Linked DNA regions of Homo sapiens: region 2 is linked to region 1. Evidence: promoter capture Hi-C in human tissues and cell types (Jung and others, 2019). All regions are on one chromosome and are shown on one strand. Each heading gives the region's core, a stretch centred on a gene start or on the middle of the fragment in contact. The rest is flanking DNA. Distances are from core to core; before and after follow the strand shown.

Region 1 (7,777 bases), core at 3,427-5,926:
TGTTTTTTTCTACTAATGAAACTCTGAACTTACAGAAAACTATCTACTTTCAGGCCAGGCATGGTGGCTCATGCCTGCCTGTAATCCCAGCACTTTGGGAGGCCGAGGAGGGTGGATCATGAGGTCAGGAGTTTGAGACCATCCTGGTCAATATGGTGAAACCCCATCTCTACTAAAAATATAAAAAATTAGCCGGGTGCTGTGGCACATGCCTGTAGTCCCAGCTACTCGGGAGGCTGAGGCAGGAGAATCACTTGAACCAGGGAGGCGGAGGTGCAGTGAGCTGAGATTATGCCACTGCACTCCAGCCTGGGTGACAGAGCAAGACTCTGTCTCAAAAAAAAAAAAAAAAAAGAAAAAGAAAAAGGAAAAAACTATCTACTTTCGTTTATCTCCCATCAAGACATCCATTCATCCATTCCAGAGTTACCTTTTGACTAGCTCCCTATCTTAATCTTGGTCTAGAAAATTAAGGTAACTTCTTTTTCAGAATTTCAGGAGCTGGTTCAAGGAAAAAAGTTCCCTTTTTAAGCTTCTTTCATCCCAGCTTTCCAACAATTACCCTTAGGCCTTACTCAGGTCTTAGAGAAGCAGAATCCATTGTGCTTATTCACATTGATGACTACATCAATGTATCTAAGAAGAGTAAGTGTTAAGACCAAACACATCATCAACTTGTTCAGCACAATTTGTTCATACCACAGTAACTGTGGGATGCAGTCTAAGATATTCTCTTCTTTCCTTTTTAGCAGCAAACCTCTGTGACTCAAGGAAATCTCAGTTGGATGTCCTGTCTCATCTACTCAAGACCAGTAAGCAACACTTACTTAAAAAGAACATATTCTCTTTATTTCTGCTTGGGATACAAATGTTCAGTTTGGATGATGAGAATGAGGCAAGTACTGGAGACAATGGCTGGCTCTCCTGTTTGTCCCAATAAACTCCAATGGAGGAAGAAGCTAAACAGGTTTTGGATGGTTTCGGTCTACTGCATCTAGCTTATCAAATCTACAGCCTGGTACTTCTGGAACAGGACTTCCCTGCCCCAGTGATGACAGTTAAAGATGGCAAAAATGAAGAATTCAACATGTATACGCAGTGCAGTCTGATGTCTTCAGATGTTCTCTAAAATTCTGTATTTGGTCAGAGCTGGGAGTGAGATCAGGGTGCTTGCACATTTCTGCTCCACTGCTCCCGATTCTGCTTTGCTGCCTTGGAGGGAGAGTAGATTTAGATCTGGGGGCTGGTGGGGGCCATAGCCTTGGCAGCTTGCTGGGCTAACCAGTACTTATATCTTTTGGTCTTGGGCTTCTCAAAGTTCACGACAGACATAGGCACTCTCACAGTATCAAGCCCATTTACCTGCACACAAAACAATGGGAATTCTCAGAGATCAGTCAGGTAAGTAAGATTTAGCACCACCTAATCCCAGCTTTTCACCCTGACTTTTCTCCCAGTCAGAAAAAGGAGAGCTAGGGCTGGGCACAGTGGCTTATGCCTGTAATCCCAGCACTTTGGGAGGCTGAGGCAGGTGGATCACCTGAGGTCAGGAGTTTGAGACCAGCCTGGCCAACATGGGGAAACCCTGTCTCTACTAAAATACAAAAATTAGCCAGGCACGGTGGCGTGTGCCTGTAATCCCAGCTACTAGGGGGACTGAGGCAGAAGGATCGCTTGAACCTGGGAGGTGGAGGTTGCAGTGAGCTGAGATCGTGCCACTGCACTCCAGTCTGGGCAACAGAGTGAGACTCCAGCTCAAAAAAAAAAAAAAAAAAAAAAAAATTAGAAAAAAGGGAGAGGTAGGTGCTAGGTGCGGTGGCTAACGCCTGTAGTCCTAGCTACTTGGGAGGCTGAGGTGGGAGGATCGCTTGAACCCAGGAGTTTGAATCCAGCCTGGGCAATGAAACAAAACCCTGTCTTTAAGAGAAAGGAAAAAAAGGAAAAAGTGGGGGAAAAGGAGAAAGAAAAGAAAAAAGAAAGTATGCAAAACACTCACCGTCACCTCACACCAATACTCGCCCCACCGTGTGATAGGCTCTTCTGGTAACTTTAATGTATGTGGGGCAACCACAACACCAAGCTGCAAAAAAAAAAAAAAAAAAAAAAATCTCAGCTCAAATGAACTCTGTTTTCATGACTGCCACTCTAGGGAACCTCATAAAGAGGGTTACAGGATTCCCTGCACAGGGATGAATAAAACTGGGGTGTCTACTCTGGCTGATTCCATGGGAGAGAAGGGCATACACCTTCATAGACGGTAGTAGAGAAATTCAATTCTGATTTCTCAGAAAGGGAGGTAGATTCACAAAGAGAAACAGGGCTTGAGGCCAAAACCACTTCATCCACAAAAGTAACAATTCTCCAGTGAGTCACAAATCCCCAGCATTTCCCTAGGTAGACAGGAAATAAATGGAAACCACCACCTTTTCCTATCAGTCTTCAAATTCTATGTGACCATCCTTAGTCCTTAGCCATTTCCTTCCCATATTCCTGCAAACTAACCAAGAATACTTTCCTTAACTACAACTGGATGATCACACCCCTTCCTAACAAAGGGATCAATCCCAGGCCTCCTTTCCAGAGGCAGCTTCCACCTCAGGGGTAGAGTGGTTTTTGGGAACACTCACTCACATTCTTAAAGAAGTGGCGGGCAACTATTTCAGGGTTCAGCTCCCATTTGACATTGTTCTTCATCCCTACCTCCAGGCGACAGCTTTTTAGAAATTTCACTGTCTGAAAGGAATTATGAGTTTGAGTCAAAGGAGAGGAAACATGTCAGGGTCACAGGGTATGCAAGCCAAGCAAGATGGCTCATGCCTGTAATCCCAGCACTTTGGGAGGCCAAGGTGGGTCTCCCAAAGTGGGTCACTTCAGCCCAGGAGTTTGAAACCAGCCTGGCCAACATGGCGAAACCCTGTCTCTACCAAAAATACAACAGTTAGCCGGGCATGGTGGCGGGTGCCTGTACTGATTATCTTCTCATGTGTCCATGTTCTCTCCAACTTGTACGTAAATATCCTTGAAGGCAGAGCCCTCATCTCAGACTATTCCATGGGTTCCCTGATTCCCAGATTGGGACCTCCCTTGGTACTTTAAGGCACTTCACCCAACACATCAGGGATCTCCCAAGAGGTCTCCATACCTGTTTTGTGGGGCAGCCACAACACTTCCCCTTTCTCCCACTCTTGGGTCTGCAATCAGGAGACCTCAAGGGAATCAGGGAGACTCTCAGGGTGAGGTTGGTAAGTCTTGTGACAAATAAACACTTTTTATGTTTCTACTCACCGCCTCACCTGCCTTGGTCTGGATCTTCTCTAATTTTCCTTCTTGTCTCAGCTAGAAAAGAAAGTTAAAGATGAAAAGCAGTAAAAGAAAAATGAGCCCATGTTAAATAGCATCAAACTATTCCTATGTTGGACATTGGCTGGGCTTCTGCATTCCTGTTCTTCTAGTTCCTATTTCATTTTCAAGTTAAGTTAAATGTCAAAGGGAAGGAAGCTGCAAGAGAAAAGAAGTTTTATCTCCCCAAGTCTCTCTGTCCTTCCTTTGAGCTCACCAATTTCTCCTCTTCAAACAGCTTCTTGTTTTCAGGGGATGCATATACAGCCAGTCCCTGAGGAAGGAGTCGATTCCGGCCTAAAGATTTCTTCACTGAGACCAGGTCACCCCGGACTCCAACATCTGTCAATTAGAACAGAGACAGGGGAATTAGAACCATCTAGGAGTCCCTAAAGAAAAGATGTCAAAAAGAGAAGCACCTCTTAGTTTCTCACAGTGCTTATTTTTCCTAAAAGAAATGCTAATTCATATTCACTAGGAACAAGATTTAAGAGACTGCTAATTAGTTTCTTTAGAACTTGATGTATAAATTTAATATCCCCTGTATAGAGGGAGTTGTCGTCCCATGGAGGATTTCAGTATCTGTGGCACAAATTGTCAGGCTCCTCTCCCCACACACTGTTAATGATGTTGCTGCCTTTATGTTTTAATTTTCAATGCTGGAGGCCAGTGTCACAATCACAATAGTTTTTATGGCTTCCTCTTCTCACATATAGAGTTGGATTGTTTCCACAAAGAAAAAGCAAGGCAAATAGTTGAGGGGGACGGGCTAGAAAAAGCTGATGCCAAACCGGACCAGCCTGAGAGGAAGCGCCTCGGCCCGGGCCTTACTCTCCACCGACTGCGTCAGGATGAGCTCCAGGTTTTCTTTGGGCCGATGCTTCGTGTCCTCCACCAGCTTATAGACGCGATGTCGCCGGTGCAGGCGCGGCTTCCGGCCCTCCCCGGCCAGCGGTACCTTCCACCAGCGCTCCACGATGACCGTGCCCTGGCGGCCAGGAAAGCGACGGTAAGCTAGTCTCCACAAGGAACACCCTCTCCCTCCACCACGGCCGCCAGCCCCTCAAGGAAAGCCCGCCACCCCCACATCGGCCCCCTCCAGGTCCCAGTGCGCCTCCAGAAACAATACTCGAGCGTATCTACCCCCTACCCCAGACTCAGCCCTCACCCGATTTTGAGAAAGGCTGAAGTTGCAGGCCAGGTCAGGGGCGTTCCCTTCATGTCGCGGCCGCAGTAGCTCCTGGACGCCTCCCCGAAGCAGCCGTCCAGCGCCCGCCCGCAGCAGAGCTCTGCCCGGGGCCGTGACAACGGGCGCCGCCATGTTCACAGGCACAGAATGAGACCTGAGGGAGGACCCCGGCGTCGGCGGCAGGAAAGGCCCCCGCCAGTGCTGCCTGCGGCGCGCCGGTACGGCTGAGCGAAAGTATGGGGAGCGGGCCGGGGAACAGATGGCACCGCGGCTTGCCTATTTTTGCTTTTTGGCAGAGGTGACGGACGCCTAGAATTACTGACTGATAATGGAATGAGTGTTAGGTGGACTGACGCCGGAAAAGACGCTCTTCCTCTTGAAAGTGTGGGCTTTGCTGTAGCTCCAGTTGCTGGGCTAACTTTTAATTCTAACGTTCTGTGATGACTGGATACTGACCGGAGAATGAATGATGCTCTCACTTTTCCTTACTTCAAATCTACCTAAAAGTGGTAAAGGATGGGATCCCTTGGAAAACTCTGCCAGCTCCAGGAGGAGCCTGACCCTTAATCATTATACTGCAGTATTTAAGCTAATAAAGGAGAATTCTAAATCACAAGCTATGTAAACCGTAGAAAAAAAAGCAACTATGGTAAGGCCGCGACAGTTCCCTCTGGGGAGGGTCTCAGTACTGGACAGAAGACCATAAAAACTGGATGAAAGAAGGTCCATTTGGCAGAGATTATGGAAAGACTGGCCCTTAAACATACTGACCAGTCCTCCTTCCTCCTAAATACACTACTTGGCCTCCTGGACACCGGTCTTCTTCAGTCTCGTTTGCTGATTTCTCCTTTTCTCCCCGCTTCTTAGAATGCCCTCGGGACTCCGTTTTTGAACCTTTACTCTTCTCAGTATACACTCACTGTTGATCTCATCCAGTCTCGTGGCTTACAATACCATTTATAAGCCAATGACTCCCAAATTTCTAGTTCCATCCTAGACATCTCCCAAACTCGTCTCAAATATTCAACTGTTTATTCGTCATTTTCCTCTTACGTATCCAAAGGACACCTCAAAGTTAACTGTCCCAAACTAATTTATTTATTCCCCCCTCGCCCCCAAAACTGCCCCATCTGCAGCCTTTTTCCTCTCAGTTGACAGAAACTCCATTCTTTCCATTCTAACTCTTTTCTCTCATACTCCATCAGGAAATCCTGTGGGTTCTACCTTTAAATTACAGATAGTCCCTGACTTGGATTTACAATTTTTGAGTTTGTGATGGTGTGAAAGTGATGTGCACTCAGTAGGACATCAATAAGTTACATGAAATATTCAACACTTTATTATAAAATAGGCTTTGTGTTAGATGATTTTACCCAACTGTCGGATAAGTTGTCTGAGCATGTTTAAGATAGGCTAGGCTAAGCTATGGTGTTTGGTAGGTGTATTATATGCATTTTCAACTTATGATACTTTCAACATACGATGGGTTTATCAGGACATAACCCTATTTTAAGTCAAGGAGCACTTGTATTTCCAGAATCCAGCCACTTGTCACCACCTCCAATGCTCTACCTTGGAATAAGACACTACTTTCTCCTGGATTACTGCAATAGTCCCCTAAAAGATATCCCTTAATTCTCTACAGTTTATAATTCTATGTAGCTTATTTATAGCAGCCAGAATGATCTTTTTAAAGCATAAGTCAGATCATGTCATTCTTCCACCCAAAACTTTGTAATGACTTCCTCCTTTACTCAAGGTAAAAGAAAAAGGCCATCAGATGGTCTACAAGGCCATACATACTCTGACCCCATTAGCTCCTCTCTAATTTACACTGCTCCACCCACAGTGGCCTCCTTGTTTCTTGAAAACACCAGGCACGTTTCCTGCTCAGGGCTTTTGCACTGGCTGCTTTTGCGTTGGATGCTCTTATCCTCAGATGCTGGCTTGGTTAACAACCTCACATCCTCCAAGTGTTTAATTAAATGTCAGTTTTTTTCAGTGAGAGATCACCCTATTTCTTACTGTAACCCTGACCCATCCCCTTCACATTCCTTATCTTCCTTTATCTTGCTCTATTCCCCCCACCCCATAGCAGTTACCTTCTAACATACTAAACAATTTACTATGTTTATTTTCTAGGTTTGTCCTCTCACTTTTAGAAGATACGTTCCATAGGGCAGGGATTTGTTTTGTTCACTGATGTATCATCTCAAGCACCTAGAATAGTGCCTGGCTAATAGTAGACCCTCAATAAATATTTGTTGAATGGATAAATATGCAGAGGTCTCAAAGTGGCAGTCCCAGAACCAAATTTTGCTTACAATGTTGTTTTTTTATCAACAATTTTTTAGTAGTTGATTTTTTTTTTTTTTTGAGTTGGAGTCTCGCTATGTTGCCCAGGCTGGAGTGCAGTGGCACGATCTCAGCTCACTGCAAGCTCCGCCTCCTGGGTTCACGCCATTCTCCTGCCTCAGCCTCCCGTGTAGCTGGGAATACAGGCGCCTGCCACCACGCCCGGCTAATTTTTTGTATTTTTAGTACAGACAGAGTTTCATCGTGTTAGCCAGGATGGTCTCGATCTCCTGACCTCGTGATCCGCCCGCCTCGGCCTCCCAAAGCGCTGGGATTACAGACGTGAGCCACCGTGCCCGGCCCAGTAGTCGATATTTTTTAAAATTGGTGAGATTTACTACAAAACTGTCTTTCCAGTTTCTGTTCAAAAATCATACGATACAGCACCATCAAGTCTGCATTCTTGCATGGAACTGGATGGAATTGAGTTGTGTGGACTTCCTTTAGATAACGTGTGAGCTTTCCTATTTTGCTACAGCCCTACCCTGCCACTCCACTAATTTCCATAAGCTGTCTAGGCCCCTGAAGGGGCCTAGACAATTAGTTTGCAATTCCTACCCTACAAGGATCCTGGGTTATTAAGGGTAGGGATGATAATAAAAATACTCAACTGGTATGAACTGGGAACCAACTAATCAGGTCACCACTGGATCAGAGCCTTGGAAGAGTCAGATACCAACTCTTTACTTGCTGGATTTTGGGGGAAGGGGAGTGTCCACAGAGGAGCAGGGTGGGTGGGCACAAGTGCTCAGGCAGGGCTTTTGGCCAACCAGTACAGAAGTCTTCAAGTTCTATTTTTTAATCATTCATACAGCCATAACATGCATACTAGTCGAATATGAGCCTTGGATAAGGGATTAGGGTAGATAAGCAGCAGAGTGGAGTCCTGAGGTG
Region 2 (7,777 bases), core at 2,160-4,659, 90 kb after region 1:
AACCATGAACTTGGTGACCCACGGTCAGCCTGATTTCCCTTGTGGACACATTTATGCCCAGTGTGCATTCCTCCTGAGGTCTGTTCCAAGTCTGGAGGCAGCAGAGTAGAGTGGAGAGAACAGTGGACTTGGAATCTCACCTCCCAGATTAGAGTCCTGGATCTGACTTTGATTGCTGGTGCTGCCTCGGGCAAGTTACTTTAGCTGTGTGCATCTCCATTTCCCCATGGATAGAACATGGGTTTTGGGTAGAAGTGTCTGATAGCTGTACTGTGCTTTACGGTTCATGAGCACGCACACATAGGCCCATAATATCATATCTCTGGTCACCCTGGCAGGTAGATATTATTGCCCCAGGTTTCAGGTAAGAAGACTAAAGACCAGGGGTCAATTGCTTGCTCAGAGTCCCACAGCCAGCAGCAGCCAGGCAGGACACCAAGTCAGAGTCTAGATTCCGGATCTTGCCCTCTTCCAAGTGTACCACATTCTTCTCAAAGTGGCCTCTCAGGTCTTTTGTCCAGAAAATTTTGAGACTTTGATGAGAAGCCCATATCTGCACACTGGGGATTAGGCCAGATAACCCTGTGTGTCCTTCCAGGCCTGGTATTGTGAGGCTGAAGCCTAGTGCCCCACACTCCCTTCCTCACCCCTTAGAGAAAGATAGAGACTCCAGGGCCAGCCTGGTGGGTGCTGAACCTGCCCTGCTGAGCCAAGCCCAGGAGGCAGCCAAGGTCCTACCAGTGACCTTACCCTGGGGGCCCCTCCAGGTAGGAGCCTGGTTGGAAAAGACAGACCGACTTCTTCTGGGTTGGCTGGAAAAAGATGACATACTCAAAGCCTTGTCCTTCCACTTGGATGCACCTGGTGAAGATGCGACAGTCACCTTTGTCTGGGGAGAGATAGGCAGTGTTGCAGCCGGAGAAGGGAGGGTATGGTCAGGATGCAGCACCATTTGGTTGAGTCTTGCCTCTGGTACAAGATTAAGGAGAGAAAACCAGAGGACACCAGGTCCACCCCCAGGGAGCCTTCCCTCTGGGAGCAGAGGCACAGTTGCTGTCCTCACAGAGCCTTTCTGTCTAGGGCAGAAACATGCAGGAAGTGCCCTGGCTGAGAATGGAGATAGGATCAGGGCCAGGGCAAGACTTTAAGAGACCATAAGCATTGAAAATTGAAAATGTAATTACTCATGTAACTCACATATAATTCAAAAGAATAATAGTAAACAGTAAAATAAGAGCAGAAAAGTCCATCAAAGTTCTGATTTTTTTTTTCCAAGACAGCTACCACTACTACATCCTTTTTTGGAAGTATCAAATTCTTTGAAAAAAAATTATGTTGGTATTCCTGCTTTGTTTGTGCCATAAACCCAAGGGTAGTCTGTCCCCTGTACCACTCCTTCATCACTAGGCAGGAAGACAACATATATGAGTGAGAGAGACAGGGAGATACACATGCGTGCACACACGAGTGCACACACACACACAAGAAGGTGGAAGCTCTATCATTAGGATCCATTAGGATCATTAGGTGTTTCAGGAGTGCTGCTCCAGACCCCGCACAGCAGGGATGATGTGCAGGGCCTCAGTGGAAGGGGTGTGGGGTCCAAGGGCTTTCATGGGGTTGGGGCGGAAGGCTTGGGATGAGGCTTGATAGTTAGGGAGGGGCAGTCAGTGAGAAGTCGGGGCAGGAGCTGGGCTGGCTGTCCTCCAGTGGGGACATGCTTGGCTGGGAGCGAAGGTGGGCCCACCAGGGTGTGCTGCTTCAGATGGGAGGAGGGGAGCTGGAGACCTGAGAGGACACCCGCCGCCTGTTGCCTGGGGCTGCAGCATCAGGGGTGGAGTTGGACAGCAGGAAGAACTCGCTGAGAACTGGAAGGCGGTCTGTGAAGTTGCTTCTCAGTCTTAGAACACAGGGAAGGGCGGCTGGGGTGTGTGTACTCATGGTCCTGTCCTTACCTGAGGAAACTGCCAGTCCAGATGGGAGCTTGAGTCCCCGGATGTGGTCTCTGTTGGACTTGAAGGAGGGCAGCTTGATCCAGCCGCTAGACTTAGTCTTCTCCAGAAATTCTTGGTACAGGCTCAGCATGTCCGAACACCAGCTGGCATTGGGAAGAGCATAATCCTTCAAGTCTGTCTTCTCTGGCAAGAATCTTGAGAACTGGGCAGGAAAAATCAGAATGACTAGACAGCATCCTGGAGGGGGGCTGCTGCCTGGGCTCGGGACCTCTAAACAGCTGTTCCTGGGTGCTGGGGCTTCTCAATCCCTTCTGCCAGAGTATCGATCCAAGGGAAAGGGCCCATATTCCTTGCAGGGGGGCTGCGGACCCCTATGGGTGACGGGGCATAAGGATGCTAAAGAGCAAGGGAAGGGCGGGCAGGGAGTGGGGCCAGAGATGATGGGCATGCTGCTCGATGTGGTGCCTTACCCTTGTTCTGCTTAAAACATGTGAGCAGTTCTTTAAAGTTGACAACTGCTCATATTAGCCTCACTGTACAGATGGGGAAACTGAGGGAATACGGCCAAGGTTGCCAAGCATGTGACTGTGAGAGCTGGTGGTCGCACTAGATGCTGTCTCCTCTGCAGGGCAGGGTCACAGTTGTTGAGGACCATTCTAGCAACCCCCACCTCAGGGGCTACTCCAGCTCTGCCCACTGCTGTGGGCCTGCCTGGGCAGGGTGGCTCCTTTGAAACACATTTGGGCCCCCACAGAGGTGTGGTGCCATGGCTGGGGCACAGACTATGTGCCCATCTGTGTGACGTAAGGAAGTCCTCTGTAGCGTCACCTGCTCATACACCAGTCACAACTGTAGACAGCATGTGAGCTGCTTGCCAATGCCACAGATGGGGTCCTCTGTCTGGGGATACCCCAGCTTTGCTGCAGTAGTCTGAGTCCCACAGGAGGAAAGTCATTTGTTGGTGGCCACACAAGACACAGAGCCAGATGCAGGTCTCCTGGTAGTTTTAGTTTTGAATGGGGGCAACTTGGTATCCCAGAGCACTTTCTCTTTGCCAAATCAAATAGCTCCTCCGAACACTGCCCACCTGCCCTGGCCATGGGCTGGGAAGAGGAGATTTGGGGTGCTCCTTAAGCCCTAGGCTCCTGGGAAAACACTGCCCATCTGGCTGAGCTGGGAACTCACCATGGAGTCTGTGGAGGATCCAAATGCTGAGGCAGGGTTGAGTCTGGGCAGGATACGGGGGGCCTCAAGAAGGCCTCTGTGGTGGCCAAGTCTTGCTGCCACCTGGAAGCATCTCCTTATCATGGCCAAGTGCAAGGATCCAGCCCTGCTTGGATGGAGGGTCTTGGCTGACTCCCAAGGAGTGCTTTCAGCTGCACTTGGGGCCGCTTCTCTCCCTTCTGTTGCAGGCTTTCTTTCAGAGAGCTAGGCGAGGCTGGGCTGGTGTGCTGCAACACCCACAGATGCTCGGCGCCTTTAGCTGGTCTAGGAGCCCCACCCAGTGCTTGGGGAGGGACAGATGCTGCTTGGGCATGAAAAGGCAGCAGGACTGGCTTGAGTTGCAAAAGGAGTAAACAAGTACATAAACAAATAGTATGGGGTATATAGAGCCTTGGAGAGCTGCCTGGGGGTTCTGAGGGAGAATCCAAGAATATTTCCAGAAGGATAAGGGAAGCCTGTCCCTTGATTGGAGGGTGCTGGTGGAGTGTTCTTGGTATGTGCTCTGCAGTGTATACCGGACTCTGAAAACTCTGGTATGATTTTGTGACTCAGAAAACCAACTCACAGGCCGGGTGCGGTGGCTCACGCCTGTAATCCCAGCACTTTGGGAGGCCGAGGCGGCGGATTACGAGGTTAGGAGATCGAGACCATCCTGGCTAACACGGTGAAACCCCGTCTCTACTAAAAAAAATACAAAAAATTAGCCGGGCGTGGTGGCGGGTGCCGGTAGTCCCAGCTACGCAGGGGGCTGAGGCAGGAGAATGGCGTGAACCTGGGAGGTGGAGCTTGCAGTGAGCTGAGATCTAGCCACCGCACTCCAGCCTGGGCGACTGAGCGAGACTCCGTCTCAAAAAAATAAAAATAAAAAAATAAAAAAAAAGAAAACCAACTCACAGCCTTAGACACCTCTTTTTTTTTTTTTTTTTTTTTTTTGGTGAGACGGAGTTTCAATCTTGTCGCCCAGGCTGGTGTGCAATGGCGTGATCTCGGCTCACTGCAACCTCCGCCTCCTGGGTTCAAGTGATTCTCCTGCCTCAGCCTCCTGAGTAGCTGGGATTACAGACACACACCACCACACCCAGCTAAATTTTGTATATTTTTTTTAGTAGAGATGGGGTTTTGCCATGTTAGCCAGGCTGGTCTTGAACTCCTGACCTCAGGTGACCTCCCAAAGTGCTGGGATTACAGGCGTGAGCCACCGCACCCGGCCAACACCTCTTCTTATATCCCGGACAAGGGTTAGCACAGGAGAGTTTCACCTGCTGGTCTCTGGCTGGGGATAGGAGTTGGAGGTGGGGGAGGGCTTGACAGGGAGGGCAGAAAATAATTTGGGAGGAAACAGCTTGGCAGGGATACTCTCATGTTTTGGGAACCCCGTGCCCAGGGAGTGGCTCATGTCAGCAGGCAGTGCTGGGAGTGAGGTGGGCGCGGCAGTGAGGCTTTGTTGAGTGGGAAGGGACACTCAGCCAACATCTGCAAGGCAGTGGGATTTGGTGGTGGTGTGTCTTCTATTGAATTTAAACTGCCAATTTTCAATTAAAAGTCTCAGTTTTAAATTGACTAAAATAAAAGCATGTTCTAAAGATCAGTCCTCGCGCAGTGGCTCAAGGCTGTAATCTCAGCATTTTGGGAGGCCGAGTGAGACCTTGTCTTAAAAAAAAAAAAATCAGAACTGTGCAAAGGTGGAATCATAACAGTGATGATGACGATAATAATAGTTGTGATGATTATGACATTTTGGCAGGTTCCAAAAGATGAAACTGATTTAATGCGGAAATTTAAAAGATTTGGTTCACCCTCTGTATTTGGTTGCCCTAGAAGAAGACTAGAATATAAATATTTCCCCTCACCTCCTGCAAAGGTTTGAATTAAACTTCCTCAAGGACTGGGGGAACCATTTTTTTTTGTTGTTGTTATTTTGTCAGAGTCTCACTCTTATTGCCCAGGAGTGCAGTGGCACCATCTCGGCTCACTGCAACCTCTGCCTCCCAGGCTCAAGCAATTCTCCTGCCTCAGCCTCCCAAGTAGCTGGGATTACAGGCGCTTGCTACTACGCCCGGCTAGTTTTTATATTTTTAGTAGAGACGGGGTTTCATCATGTTGGCCAGGCTGGTCTCAAACTCCTGGCCTTGGCTGATCTGCCTGCCTCAGCGTCCCAAAGTGCTGGGATTACAGGCATGAGGCACCACGCCCAGCTGGAAGTTTTTTTGGTTGATTCAGCCTCTGGGTCTAAGCAAAGATATTTGAGTTGGTTGCCATCCCCAGATAAGTGAGAATATCTGGCAGCACTCATTTTCAGCCCTGGGCCGCAGCCGTTGCTGTGAGGCAGAAATTAAAAAAAGATAGTAAGTACTACATTCATTCACTCCAAGAAAAGTAACAGACAAGGCTATAAGAAGGTCATAGTGACCTAGTCTGAGAAGTAAAAGCCAAGGCCCAGAATGTGGCAAGGCAAAGGTTAAAAAGAAAGGAAGAGCAAGTTTTTCTCTGCCTAGCAAGCTCACTTCAAAGACAATTATAAGATAATGCTCTTCGAGAAGTCGAAACCAAAGGAATAGGCTCCAGACATCCCCCGTCTGGAGCAAGGGTGAAGGAAAAAAAAAAAAGGACAAATGTCTGTCTGTATTTAGCCAGTTCTTGTTTTTTCTTTCCACGCAGCTACAAGGCCACCAGCTATGCAAAGCCACAAGTTATGCCAAGTCATCAGTTATGCTATAGATTATGTGACCTGTCATTATATGATTAACTGCCTGTTTTGCTTCTGTAAGCCTGCTTATAAAAATCCTGCTCAGTCTTTGTTCAATGCTCAGCTTTTTGGATGTGAATCCACTGAGCCAATGCCTACCTTAAAATAAACATCGTCCTGTTTTTCCATATCTGTCTCTCTGGTCCTGAGTTTACCACAATAGCTGTAGCTGGTACCCTGTGCCTGTGGCTTGCCCAGGCGTCCCCTGGCACTTGGCATCCCTTCATTCCCTGGGTCCATCCTTGATCTGGAAGGATGGACTTGAGAAGACAGGATAGAAAAGAAAAATCCTAGGAAGGATAGGTGAACTGGAGAGAAGTCAGAGGAAAGGTGAGTGGGGAGCAAGAGGGGATCCTCAGGCGGCCCTGACAGCTGGAAGCTGGTTCCAGCAAGGTGGCCCCAGGAGGAAAGAGCTGTCCTCCTAAGAAGAGTCAGTAGGGCCAGGCGCGGTGGCTCACGCCTATAATCCCAGCACTTTGGGAGGCCAAGGCGGGTGGATCACCTGAGGTTGGGAGATCAAGACTAGCCTGACCAACATGGAGAAACCTCATCTCTACTAAAAATACAGAATTAGCCGGGCATGGTGGCGCATGCCTGTAATCCTAGCTACTTGGGAGGCTGAGGCAGGAGAATCGTTTGAAGCCAGGAGGCGGATATTGTGGTGAGCTGAGATTGCGCCATTGCACTCCAGCCTGGGCAGCAAGAGTGAAACTCTGTCTCAGAAAATATAAAGAGTCAGTAGGTGGCTGGGTGCAGTGGCTCATGCCTGTAAGTCCAGCACTTTGGGAGGCTGAGGTGGGAGGATCGCTTGAGCCCAGGAGTTCGAGACCAGCCTGGACAACATAGTGAGACCCCGACTCTACAAAAAAGAAAAAAAATTAGCTGGGTGTGGTGGTGTGTGCCTGCGGTCCCAGCTACTCAGGAGGCTGAGGCAGGAGGATCGCTTTAGCCCAGGAGTTTGAGGCTATAGTGAGCCCAGATTGTGCCACTGCACTGCAGCCTAGGTGACAGAGTGAGACCCTGTCTCAATTAAAAGAAGAAAAAAAGTTGGTAGGTGCACCTGAGAAAGGAAATTGCTGTTTCATGGGCTGAGTGCCACTTGGGAGCTGGGTTGTCACCCAGCGATTTTCCCATGGTGATCCCAGTGGGGTCTGAATCTCTTGTTGCCTCCTATGTTGGTTGTTTGACGATTTTTGGTTAAATCAACTTTCAAATATTTACATAATTATGATTATGTAACTTTTGCTCTCAGCCTTGCCACATACTACAGTTACATTTGTTTCCTGTATCACTTTATTTTCTTGAGTGGATAATTACCAAGGTTCAGCTGGATGATGTGGTCCAGAGGAAAACAGGGGAAGGGAAGGAGCTGACAACTGGTCGAGGTCAACTTTCACTTCTCTGCTAGGAGGGAAGAGCATCCAGGAGGGAGAAAATAAGAGAGACGAGGCTCTGGCGCTGTCTGTGATACTGCAGAGCAGCTCTAGTTGGATCAAGGGCATGACAGATGGAAAGAATTAGGATATCTGAGAAGAACATCCATAACTGATGGTACAACCATGGATGTGGCCCCCAATTAGGCTGGCTGGAGGAGAGTGAAGGAGGTTTCCAAGGCCATCTAGGAAAAGAAAGATTAGGATTATTGAGAAAGTGCTCCTTTCTCCCTTTCCAACTCCTCCTCCCACCATTCCACATATCTTGTGGATGCTTTCTGCAATGCAGAGCCCTTTCTGGATGTGGGTCAAGTGGTCCACTCTCCAGGGAGGTGGAAAGGTGCTCAGCTAATACTTTGAATGGGTTTTGTGACAACATGAACTTTAGCCCCAACCCTTCTCCTTCTGTATGAATTTAG

The links. The method cuts DNA at HindIII sites, captures the fragments that hold promoters and counts their contacts. A contact is called where the count stands out against the background at its distance.
Region 2: the fragment with the promoter of THEM5 here is called in contact with the fragment with the promoter of MRPL9 in region 1 in 1 of the 25 tissues and cell types used here (small bowel).

Annotation. Positions count from the first base shown.
Region 1 is chr1:151,758,820-151,766,596 of GRCh38, forward strand. MRPL9 (mitochondrial ribosomal protein L9) reads right to left here and starts at 4,677. Exons shown (of 7, transcript NM_031420.4): 1 at 4,508-4,677; 2 at 4,171-4,327; 3 at 3,557-3,681; 4 at 3,286-3,336; 5 at 2,632-2,733; 6 at 1,997-2,080; 7 at 828-1,362. The coding sequence starts at 4,660. The coding sequence ends at 1,231. It also overlaps a transcript of OAZ3 not described here and a transcript of TDRKH not described here. RefSeq lists an enhancer at 4,448-4,827. The HindIII fragment of the contact is 13,976 bases long and covers 1-7,777 here.
Region 2 is chr1:151,850,303-151,858,079 of GRCh38, forward strand. It overlaps THEM5 (thioesterase superfamily member 5), which reads right to left and starts at 3,410. Exons shown (of 6, transcript NM_182578.4): 1 at 3,141-3,410; 2 at 1,956-2,157; 3 at 751-889. The coding sequence starts at 3,263. It overlaps C2CD4D-AS1 (C2CD4D and THEM5 antisense RNA 1), which reads left to right. Exons shown (of 4, transcript NR_152846.1): 4 at 1-1,233. The HindIII fragment of the contact is 11,981 bases long and covers 1-7,777 here.